Regions from separate parts of the Homo sapiens genome. Here all the other regions are linked to region 1. Evidence: promoter capture Hi-C in 16 types of primary human blood cells and fetal thymus (Javierre and others, 2016). All regions are on one chromosome and are shown on one strand. Each heading gives the region's core, a stretch centred on a gene start or on the middle of the fragment in contact. The rest is flanking DNA. Distances are from core to core; before and after follow the strand shown.

Region 1 (2,821 bases), core at 219-2,718:
TGAAAGCATTTTCTGCAGGTCACCAGTTCTAACTACACCAGGAAAAAAAGAAATATATATTTTGTGGAACAAACATATCACAATGCCTACAAAATTTCTTATTTTCTAACATCTAGTATAATGGTTTTTCAAATTTTAGCAGGCAACATGATCACCTGGAAAACTTATAACACACAGATTGATGGGCCCCACCCTAGAGTTTCTGAGTCAGCAGGTTTAGGGTAGGGCCTGAGAATTTGCATTTCTGCTACCTTCCCAAGTGATGCTGATGTTGCTAGTCAGGGGACCACACTTTGAGAACAGTTAATTCAGTGAAAAGCAAATTTCATAGTAATCACAATTTCATAGTTTCACAGTAATCACAAAATTTGACTTGGTATCAAAAACAAACAAACAACAGAAAAACAGCCATCTCTGAAAGTAGCTTCTTTTTCCCACGTGAATTTAACCAATTTATCAAATAAAAATAGCTGCTTCTTCTCACCTGGATGCCTAAAAGAGTATTTTGTATATTAAAAGGATCTCAATGCTCTTGCCCTGACTGGTCCCCGGGCCAGTCTCCTCTCTAGGCTCAGGCCTCTGTTCCCTGGTGAACAGTCTTTAAGTGTTGCCTGGGTAATTGTCCCTCTATTAGAAAGTGCTACAGAAATGACATCTTTGGAAATAAGATTGCTTTCTCGTTTATTTCCTTAAGAGCATTGCTGCTTTTATTAAGCCAGCTACCCTTACTAAGCGAGCTCTGTAACAGGAGTTAGGAAACTTGCCTCTACATATATTCTCATCTTGCCCCTCTGAATCTACTTTCCTACATTCTTCACCATGCTCTGTGCTTGGAAGCTGACTCTATGGACTTTATTAACTCCAAAACTCTTTTATTTTTTACTTTCTACTGGGGTTGGCCCACTGGGGAGCACCAGCCAGATATTAAATTGCAGGAGGAGGTGAAGGTCATGGAATTAATTCCTAAGCTCCCACTGTGCTCTGCTTGAGGTTGTCAGTGATTTTTTCACCAAAGGCCTCTTGAGAAGCCCCTCCCCTACAGCTATAGCTTAGAGTCTCCTTGGGTCTGGTTCTCTCCTCTTGCTCCTGTAGGCCCAGGGTTATCATGTTACCACTGTTGTAAACCAACACGCCTCTTCCCGCTGCCCTGCAACCAACAAGCACCATTTCCTGTTGATTTCCCTAAACTTTGCCCATATCGTCTTAAATAGCCCCCTTATTAAACTCTTCTTGGTTATCATGTTGAGGGTGCCTATCAGGGTCAGAACCACCAGTGGGACAGCTCCCTTAGGAGAAGGCCTGTCAAAAAATTGGCCCTTAAGGAAAGTTTTAGAATTTCAAAGTGTGCAGAAATAAGGTCAGTGAAGCAGAGAAAGACTTTACCTCATGGTGCTATGAAGATAGCAGGTGATCTGTAGTGCTTTGGTTCAGGCTTGGAGGCTCCTTCAAGGTTCATCCACAGAGTTCTAGGGCTTCTCAGATAAGCATGGTGCTTATATATGGGAGGTATATCCAGGCAGTTTTTTACACCCTTGATGCCTAGTGAATTGGCAGGGTGAAAATGATACAGAGGAATAGGGCTGTCTCTGCTTTGATTACAAATACATGCTGAGTTTTGGCAGCTAAGAGGATGGGTGTGTGAGAAGCAGTTTTGATACGCAAATTCCCTTGCTGGAGTCAATGTGGTGTAGGAGATAGAGGGTAACTGGACTTTATGATGACATTCAGTGTTGTGGAAAAACCAGTGGCAGACAGGAACGTATATTTTTGTGAATCATGTCAGACTCTGTTGTCAAACTTGTTACTATCACATGTATCCCGCCAGGTGGTTCCAGGGACGTCTACAATGGAAGCTCCTTAGACCAGGGTCAGTGGTTTGTGCCTAAAAGAATACTGTAGAAAGTCATTGTCAATTTGTGGAAGAATGAGGTTGCAGATGGTTAGGTCTTCTTCTGTGGGGCTGTGTTAGGCAAAACAACTCCTCAATTTTGAGATATTGGTCTATAAGAAGGGTCCCATACTGGTTACATCCTCCAGCAGCATTTGCATTACTGCCAACCCTGGCTATAGTGGAGCCTATTCAAGCATATTGACTGTTTTGATGATCTTTACTGTTCACCATTAGTGGTTCAAACAACAATGTTTGAGCTGGTCAGTAGAGAAACATATGCAATGTAGTCAGAGAATGTGATGGGGTCATGGGGGTTAAAAATCTAAATCCAAATTCACATAGTTCTTCTGAGTTGTCCTTATGTTTCTTCTGTTTCTACTATTTTGAAGATTATCTGTTACAAAGCAACAACCATCAGAGAGTCAATCAAACAATGTTCACATGTTTAATGAAAAATTTATATGATCCCAAGGCTGATGTAATTGCCCACACAATTAGCAGAGAAAAAGGAAAATTTGGAAAGCTGCTATTCTGAATTCCTCTTGTGAATTGTTACAATGTCATCCTGTACGTTTCTGGATCTTGGTTTTGTAGGGGTAGTGCACCAAGATAAGCAAAAGGGCAAAGACTGAGAGCGATTTCCCTCTGAGTGAGCATTTCAAGGTAGGGTTATTAACTTCATTACAGTCTTCTCATAATTACCAAATGAAACTGTAGCCTCGCTGTGCTATTTCTTCTTTGTCCTGGGCCTGTAACTAGACTATATTTCCCAGGCTCCCATGTGGTAAGGTGTGGTCATGGGCATGGGATGGGAGGCTGTCAGGAAGCAGAAATGATTCTATAATTGGGTATCTTAAATTGTGTCTGGAAAAAGAGAAGACTAGACCAAGGTGACAGGTGTAATTTGAAAGGAAGCAGCAGTCATTCATA
Region 2 (2,821 bases), core at 125-2,624, 380 kb after region 1:
ACTACAGATGTGCACCACCAGGCCCAGCTAATTTTTGTGTTTTTAGTAGAGACGGGGTTTCACCATGTTGGCCAGATGGTCTCAATCTCTCGACCCCGTGATCCGCCTGCCTCGGCCTCCCAAAGTGTTGGGATTACAGGCGTGAGCCACCATGCCCGGCCGAATTTTTTTTTGTAAAGGGGAGTGTTGACACCAGCAAAGCATCCAGTTAGCTTCTAAAATTTTAAACAATTAAACTAAATGTTGGTATCTCATTATATTTACAATTTAGAGCAGAAAGGACTTTATAGATGACCTAGCCCAAACCCCTTTTCTGATAGAGATGGCAGTATCCCAACTGGTGAAGTGACTGGCCCACAGTCATGCATCTAGCAAAGGAGATTCAGGACTGTCATGGGCTAAACTGTGTCCTCCCCCAACTCCCAAATTCATATAGTGATACTGATACCCTAACTTCCTGAGCATCCGAATGTGACTGTATCAGGAGATAGGGTCTTTACAGAGGTGATTAAGTTAAAATGGTGTTAATAGGGTAAGCCTTAATCCAATGTGACTGGTGACATTTTAAGAAGAGGAAATTTGGTATATACAACTTCCAGAGCTCTTGTATTTGGAAGGCCGGAAGGGTCCAGACTTTGGAAGAGTGTCTTGGCTTCACTGTTTTTGTTTTGATTTTTTTTTTTTTTTGCTTTTTTTTAACTAAAGCTATATAAAGCTTGTAGACAGTATAAATTTCTAAATTAAAAAAAAAGAAGAGGAAATTTGGACACACATACAAACAGAGGAAGATAATGTGAAGACACATGGAAAAGAAGGCCATCTACAAGCCTGAACAGATCCTGCCCTCGTGGTCCTCAGAAGGAACCAGTCCAGTTGGCACCTTGATATCAGACTTCTAGCCCCCAAAACTGTAGCCACCCAGTTGGCAGTCCTAAGAATTTAATATAAGGAATGAACTATAGTCTCTTGATTCTCTTGGATTCTTGATTTGTGAGACATTAGTGTTACATATAAACTTGGGATCCCTCACAGCTGAGCCCAAGAATTTCCCATCTTGGATGATCACTGAGCTAAATAGGCAAGAGATTTCCCATGGTCTTCAGAACTAGAATTAGCAGGTGCCAATATGAACTAGAGCTACTTCTTTCCAGACTTATTGGTCCTGCTAGGCTGGGTTGAAATCTCACCACCCTCTACTGCTGAGGACAAAAATGGAGCAAGAAATGAAGTTCCACCGACTAATTCTGCTTGTCTGCTTGTAGACTTTCAGTTACTTATCAACACTTGAGGAAAAAGAAATTCTAAAAGACTAATAGTTTATTATTGAATAGTTTAAAATTTCCAATAAGATAATGCATCTCTAATATATCTGTGTAAAAAACAGGGATATAGTGATGTCATCTTGTCCTACTACATTATTGAAAACCTGAAATAGAAGTAAAATAAATTTTTCTACATGGAAGAGATAAGCAAAGATCCCATTCATTTGTATGTTTTTCAAAATCTGTACATAAAAATACACATGGTAATCTTATCCCAGGGATGTCCTCTTTCTTTCTTAAAGCCAATCTCTGGAAAGTCCAGGACAGAGGTAGTTGAAGCAACAGTTGCAAGTTACTGATTAGATCCATGACTGGCCAAGCCATAAATAAAATAAAATGAATGAGCCTAGGAAATTCCATCTGAAATTACATTTTGAGTTTAGTGCTAGAGTCAGAAAAATAGTTCTCAAGACCCCGACAGACATCAGAATCCTGTAGTGATGCATTATTTAATAAAAAGTGCTAAGGCCCCTACATAGACCTAAGGAATCAGGATCTCTGAGAATGGGGAAGTACCCTTGGTGATTTTGAGGTTCATCACAGTTGCAGGGCAACTAGGTTAGAGGAAGCAGAATCTGAGGTTAGCAGGTTACTACATTTACATGTGAGAATATAAGAGTTTTATAGACTAATGGCATCTGTGTTCAGCACTTGCAAATCAGAATTTGACTTCTCATGAAGAAATAATGACCCTTCCAAAAATAAGCTTGAAGATAAGAGAAATGACCTTTGGTAGAGGAAATGGGTAATGTAAGGGCTATAGAGTCCTAAAATACAGCCCCAGAGCCCTTACAAGCCCAGAGGGGCCACGTGGGTCATACAAGAATAAAGCAACCTGGGATAAGGGACTACAGAGAGAGGGAGGGGCTTGGGACCAGCTCTGCCTGTGGCCACTACCTGTGGGCAGTATAGGCCCAGGGTTTTTTTGTATTATTTTTATTCGACAAATAAAAAAATTATATATATTTATGGTATATAACATGATGTCTTGAATTATGTACATATTTTGGAAGATAATTATGTACATATTTTGGAAGATAATTAGCTAAATCGAGCTAATTACATTGGGCATTCCTTCACATACTTATCATTTTCTTTTGTGTGTGTGTGGCGAGAACACTTAAAATCTACTCTTAGTAATTTTCAAGTATACAATACATTGTTATTAGCTATAGACATCAAGTTGTACACTAGATCTCTTGAACTTATTCCTCCTAACTGAAATTTTGTATCCTTTGACCAATATCTCCCTAAATCCCCCAACTTTGCCCCCAACTAGCCTCTGGTAACCACTATTCTACTCTCTACTTTTATGGATTCAAAACTTTTAGATTCCACATATAAACGAGATCATGCAGTATTTGTCTTTCTGTGAGTATAGGCCCAATTTTTAAAATCAAGCCTGAAACCTTACAGACATTCACATGAAAAAAAACAACAACAACCAGTTAATTAGGACCAATGATCTCTGTGAGAATGGCTAAAAACCAAAGCTAAAT
Region 3 (2,821 bases), core at 200-2,699, 360 kb after region 1:
AAATCTTATTAAATAGATTAAGTAAAAATAAATACACATTGAAAGTCATTGTTGTGAAACTGCAGAACACATAGGAAAGTAGTAGGGGAAGCTTTAAAAATTACCAGAGGAAAAAAAATTACAGATTACCTACAAAGGAATGATATTTACACCAAGAGCAGACATAATCAACAGCAACAGATGTTAAGAAAACATGGTTTAATATTTTTAAAGTGCTGAGGAAAATTACAAATGGCCTTGTATAGAATTCTAAACCCAAACAAATTACCAATCAGGAGTAAGCATAGAAAAAAATTCTAAATTTCATTGATTATATACCTTATTCAGATAGTTGTACAGAAACTGATGATTCAATATCTAAAAAGTGTCTGATCTAATCAGAGGTCAGAAGACCCTGTGGGCATGCCAATAAAGAAGACCAAGATGTTTGAATATGCAATGCTTTCAATGTGATCTGTGAGCTCCTTCTGCAAATAGCCTTTTTTTCTGCAGCTCATGGGTGACCTTTGGGTGATTCTCCTACCCAGTATGCCCACCACAAAGAGAACCAGGTTCACCAGAATGAGGATGATTCTGGACCGTGGGGTCACCTCAACTCGGGAATGTGGCTGTGCTCATTGACATGGGAGAAGTCATGCTTGGGGCCACTAGGTGAAGCCATGAGGAAAAAAACCACATCACCAAGTACAAAGACTTCTCCACTGTCTTCCTCCCAAAGGAACTCAAAGTTCTTGCTCTGAGTTCACCAAAGTGGAATAGGGTGTTCTCTAACTTAATCTTGTCTTGCAAAGTAGAACTTGCACTTCTGGCCATGAAGAATAACTAGTACCTAACTTGCCCTACTTCTGTCTAGAAATAGAAAACTGGAGAGCAGACAGCACAGACTATGATGGCTCAGAAAAGAGAAATTAATGAGTGAACCCTGTGATCACTCAGACTTTCTGCCTAAAGACACTTTCCAGACCATAACACAGGAGGGAACCCTAAGCAAAGCACAACTATCTTACCGACATGCTTACATGTTGAAATGCTAATACTTTGGGACTCATGGGTTAAATAGAATATATTACTAGCATTAAATTGCAGAAAAGAAAGGTGGCCCACTGGCCAGCATGTAGCTAGAATGGATAATATGCAGGAAAGAATATTTCAAAATCCTCATTTGGCTTTCTTAATAATAAAACCTACCCCTTGAAATGTATACTTTCTTATCCACATTCCAGTATCTGGAATACGAAACTGTTTGACGAATAATCATGTGCTGTTTGGAAGAGGTCTTCTTGGCAATAGCAACCTATGGAAATAATTATTTAACTACTAAAAGGGTTAAGGTTAAAAAGGAAGTACCTTCTAAGGGATCCAAGAAGCATTAAAGACAAGTTATATTTAGCATCAGTTAGAGAAAAGGAAGACAAAACCAAAAAGCAAGCCCCTACCAAAAAAGAGAAAACCAGAAATACCAAAAACATTATTTAATTACGTACTTTTACCTATATTTTATAATTCCAAACACAAGGGGCAAAAAAATCCTCCATAAATGGAAGTTCTTTAGGTGGTTCCAGGTATCTGCTTCAGTTTATAACTATCTTCACAGTTTACATTTACAGAAATATAAATATTATTTCTTAAAATTCACATTTAATACAAACTTTCAAAGATATTTAAACGTAGGATAGTAGTAAGGAGAATCTTAAATCTTAGAAACTTGGGGGTATGACAAGAGCAATTCCTAAATCCAGATGATGATTTTACCATTGCTATGTATAAGCTGCCATTTGTAGCAGGTTTTACATGGGACATTATTGAACATTTTCGGGGGTGGGGGAAAAATAAGAATCTATTTTATCATCTTTGATTGCAAACATGGGTTCATGACATGTCACAAAGCTACTTTCTCTGAGAGCAGTTAGTATCTCCAAACCAGGCTAGAATTTCTAAGGGCAGTCTTGCCTTTTGGTGGACTATTAAGTATTTTTTGGTGATATTTCCATGTTTGGGGGTGCATTAGGCCATTAAGATGAGCACCAAGGCAAAAATGGAGAGGTGGCAAAGCTCTAGTAATACTCTCCTGCTCAAAATGCTTTTGATGCCTGAGAAAGAAGTAGGTAGTTTTGAGCCAGTAAAATGCATACACATATATAATAGTCAAACATTATAATTTAATGTTTTCTATGTGAATTCACAATTGAAATATTGTATAATATGACACCAATAAACTGTGCAAAGGTCTTTGAGGTAGAGCCTTATTTAAATTCTGCACTCAAATACATATACTTTACATAAATATGATCTTCTCAGAGTTATAAACAAAGTTTAGAAATATGGTAAAATCTCTAGAATTATCAGAGGTAATTTAGAGGCAAAGTGGCCTGCCTGTTCAGTAACTGATATTTCAGCAAAAGGTCATAGCTTCTTCTATTGATTCATAGAGTGGGGTTAGCCTGTGGATAGACATTTGTACTAACATACACTGATTACATTCATACTACAGAATCATATGTTAGATGCCAGAGCATAATCTTAATCTTTCATCCTCTGCATACACTCCTATTTGGGTACTTAGCATGCCACTGCATTTACTCTTGATGAAGTTTGTTTTCCCAACTAGATTTTAAACATCCTTGGAGGCAGAATCATGAGATATTAAAAATCTACAAATATGTTGGCTCTTCAGCGCTAATAAATGATAAAATGTACCCAGTAAAAAACCAAGCAGTATTTACAGCCAGCTATTAAGAATCTTTTCAAACACTAATTGCATATACTCAGAACTGAATTTGTTGTTTTTCACTCTAGACCAAGCTTTGGATTTCATTTCTGA
Region 4 (2,821 bases), core at 162-2,661, 330 kb before region 1:
ATCTGTACCAGGGAATCAAGTATTCACCTAAGTTTTGAAAAGAATATTTCTTAAAAATATATTAATAATAACTTTAATAAAAATATAGTAATAATAACTTTAATAACACTACAGTGATCTCTTTACATCCAATTATATATTTCCAGACCTGAGATTTGAGTCTTATCCTTAAAATCTAAGTTGCATAAGCATAAAATGTATAGTTCATTATATACAATTATATAGCAATTTAGCCTAAGCCAAGTCTCTTTATCTTTAAAACAAAAAACAAAAACACTTCAGTTTTACCTTGGAAAAACTGAATTTCTGTGCCATCTGCCCTGAGCTTTTTTCACTTAACCGACCAAGGATGCATTGAGGCTCTTTCAGCACAACAGTCTGTGAATCCAGAATATGCACACAGCCCTAGAAAACATACCCCCAATAAATAAAAACTAGTATTTTGCCATTTTAAATGAAAGTAAAATATTAAAATTCTATTAAATTCAACACAAACCTCAGACTCAAGTTCTTTTTCTGACTGTGTAAATGGTCTTATTCGAAGACAAACCTGGAGATAATCTTTAGATTCGAAACTGTTTGCCTTAAAAAATAAAGGAGAAAAACATTGTGTTTTTGAAAGATACGGCTTTTCAGAGACCATTTTTCCTTAACATGGCTACTTTTTACATAATAATCTGAGATGATAAAGAATTTCTAAGCAGTCACTATCCTGCTTTTAATAATGTTAGAAAAACTCAATAAATCTATTTAAATAAAAACAAAATACACCAAAAAAGATCCAATTTCCTCCATCTCCTGTATTTATACGTGAAGTTTATAAAAAGGCTTTATTCCACAAAAGCCTAATATAATTAATGAGGCCCTAAGTCATTGGAAAATATAACTCTAGAATAAATCAAAAGTAACTAGAATATTCTATTATTCAAATGCTCAATTCCATGAGGTATTCAGAATTTTTTTACTATGTACCATTCTCCTTGTTACTTTTTCTGAGGAAGAAATGTGCATAGAAAATGTAATTTTAAAGAAATGTTTTAATGTTTTTTTAAAAAAGTAAAAAGGAAACAACTTGATAAATGCAACTTAATCAAAACAGACATAACTAGAAAATCTGAATAACCCAATTTCTATGAAGCAAACTGAATCCATTTTCAAACAAAATAATGCCACAAAAAAAAAAATTCAGGCCCTAGTAGTTTAACAGTAAATTCTATCAAACATTTAAGAAAATGATCAGGCCAGGAGCGGTGGCTCATGCCTGTAATCCCAACACTTTGGGAGGCCGAGGCGGGTGGATCACCTGAGGTCGGGAGTTCGAGACCAGCCTGACCAACATGGAGAAACCCCATCTCAACTAAAAATACAAAATTAGCCAGGCATGGTGGTGCATGCCTGTAATCCCAGCTACTTGGGAGGCTAAGGCAGGAGAATCGCTTGAACCTGGGAGGCAGAGATTGCGGTGAGCCAAGATGGCGCCATTGCACTCCAGCCTGGGCAACAAGAGCAGAACTCCGTCTCAAAAAAAAAAAAAATACAAATTGTACATAAACTCTTTAAGAAAATATAGGAAGAGAAAATACCTTAACTAATTTTGAGTTTGACATAAGCCGAATAACACAATTGACAAAGATATCCTCAGGAAAAAATTAGAAAACAAAATACCACATTAAGATATACGCAAAATTTCCCACACAAAATACTAGCCAATATATAAAACAGGATAATACATCTGACCAAGAATGGTTTATTCTAGGAATATAAAGTCTGTTTAGCATTCAAAAATCAATCCAGGCAATTAACCATATTAAAAGAATAAATGAAGAGAAACTTTTATCTCTACAGATGGGAAAACAGCATTTGACAAAATCCAACGTCCATCTGTAATAAAAATTCTCAGCAAAGTGTAATGAATGCAAACTTCCTCATCCTGATAAAGGGCACTTACAAAAAATCTATCGCTAACAACAAACTTAACAGGAAAGACTCAATCTAAGATGAGCAGCAAAATGAGTAATAAGAAGAGGATTTCTGCTTCCCCACTTCTAGTAACATTGTATTAAAGGTTCTAGCTGGTGTAATTGGGTGTGAAGGGGGAAAGGGGATGGGGGAAGAAAAAAGGAGGGGTAAGGGAAAGAAAAAGGGAAGAGAAAAGGAAAGGAAAAAGAAAGGTAAAAGGGAAGGGAAGAAGGGAAAGAAAGAAGTGGAGGGGAGAGGAGGGGAAAGAAAAGGAAAAAAAAAATGGAAAGAAAAAAAGGAAATGAAAAGACAAAAGTCATCCAAATTGGGAAGGAAGAAATAAAATTTTCTTTATTTAGAAACAACATGAACATACGCATACAAAATCCAACAAATCTACAAAAAATTAATGTATACTAACAAAATGCTAATCAGAGGTTACTTGGAGGTGTGATGGGAGGGAGCACTTACAAGGAGCCTCAAGGAAACTTTTGAGGGTAATGGTTATACTCACTATCTTGACTGTAGTGACAGTTACATAAGTGTATGCACATGTCAAAACTTATCAAACTGCGTATCTAAAATATATGCAGTGTTTCATTATGCCTAAATAAAGCAACTAAAAATATTTACAATAGCATCAAATAACATAAAATGTTTATAAATATATTTGACAAAAGACACGAAAGGCCTCTACATTGACAAGTATAAAATACTGCTAAGACATTAAAGACCTAAATAAAATGAAGAATACTGTGTTCATGGATTAAGACTCAATATTGTCAAGATGTCAATTCTCTCCAAACTGATCCACAGATTTAATGCAATCCCAGTCAAAATCCCAAGATGCTGTCTTGTAGAA

The links. Contacts are between HindIII fragments. The CHiCAGO score rates a contact against its expected background, and 5 or more counts as called.
Region 2: a contact is called between a fragment that was not itself captured here and the fragment with the promoter of IFIT1B in region 1, in 1 of 17 cell types (M0 macrophages). The highest score is 6.0, in M0 macrophages.
Region 3: a contact is called between a fragment that was not itself captured here and the fragment with the promoter of IFIT1B in region 1, in 1 of 17 cell types (M0 macrophages). The highest score is 6.0, in M0 macrophages.
Region 4: a contact is called between a fragment that was not itself captured here and the fragment with the promoter of IFIT1B in region 1, in 1 of 17 cell types (megakaryocytes). The highest score is 5.1, in megakaryocytes.

The regions. Positions count from the first base shown.
Region 1 is chr10:89,376,703-89,379,523 of GRCh38, reverse strand. IFIT1B (interferon induced protein with tetratricopeptide repeats 1B) reads right to left here and starts at 1,468. Exons shown (of 2, transcript NM_001010987.2): 1 at 1,384-1,468. The coding sequence starts at 1,388. It also overlaps a transcript of LIPA not described here. The HindIII fragment of the contact is 6,433 bases long and covers 1-2,821 here.
Region 2 is chr10:88,996,214-88,999,034 of GRCh38, reverse strand. All of the region lies in intron 1 of FAS (Fas cell surface death receptor), which reads right to left. Among named protein-coding and RNA genes, the nearest start is that of FAS-AS1, 4.6 kb to the right of the region's middle. The HindIII fragment of the contact is 1,313 bases long and covers 718-2,030 here.
Region 3 is chr10:89,014,422-89,017,242 of GRCh38, reverse strand. FAS (Fas cell surface death receptor) reads right to left here. Exons shown (of 9, transcript NM_000043.6): 9 at 184-2,821. The coding sequence ends at 2,793. Among named protein-coding and RNA genes, the nearest start is that of FAS-AS1, 23 kb to the right of the region's middle. The HindIII fragment of the contact is 2,711 bases long and covers 94-2,804 here.
Region 4 is chr10:89,706,929-89,709,749 of GRCh38, reverse strand. It overlaps KIF20B (kinesin family member 20B), which reads right to left. Exons shown (of 33, transcript NM_001284259.2): 3 at 497-583; 4 at 289-405. Among named protein-coding and RNA genes, the nearest start is that of KIF20B, 6.7 kb to the right of the region's middle. The HindIII fragment of the contact is 5,889 bases long and covers 1-2,821 here.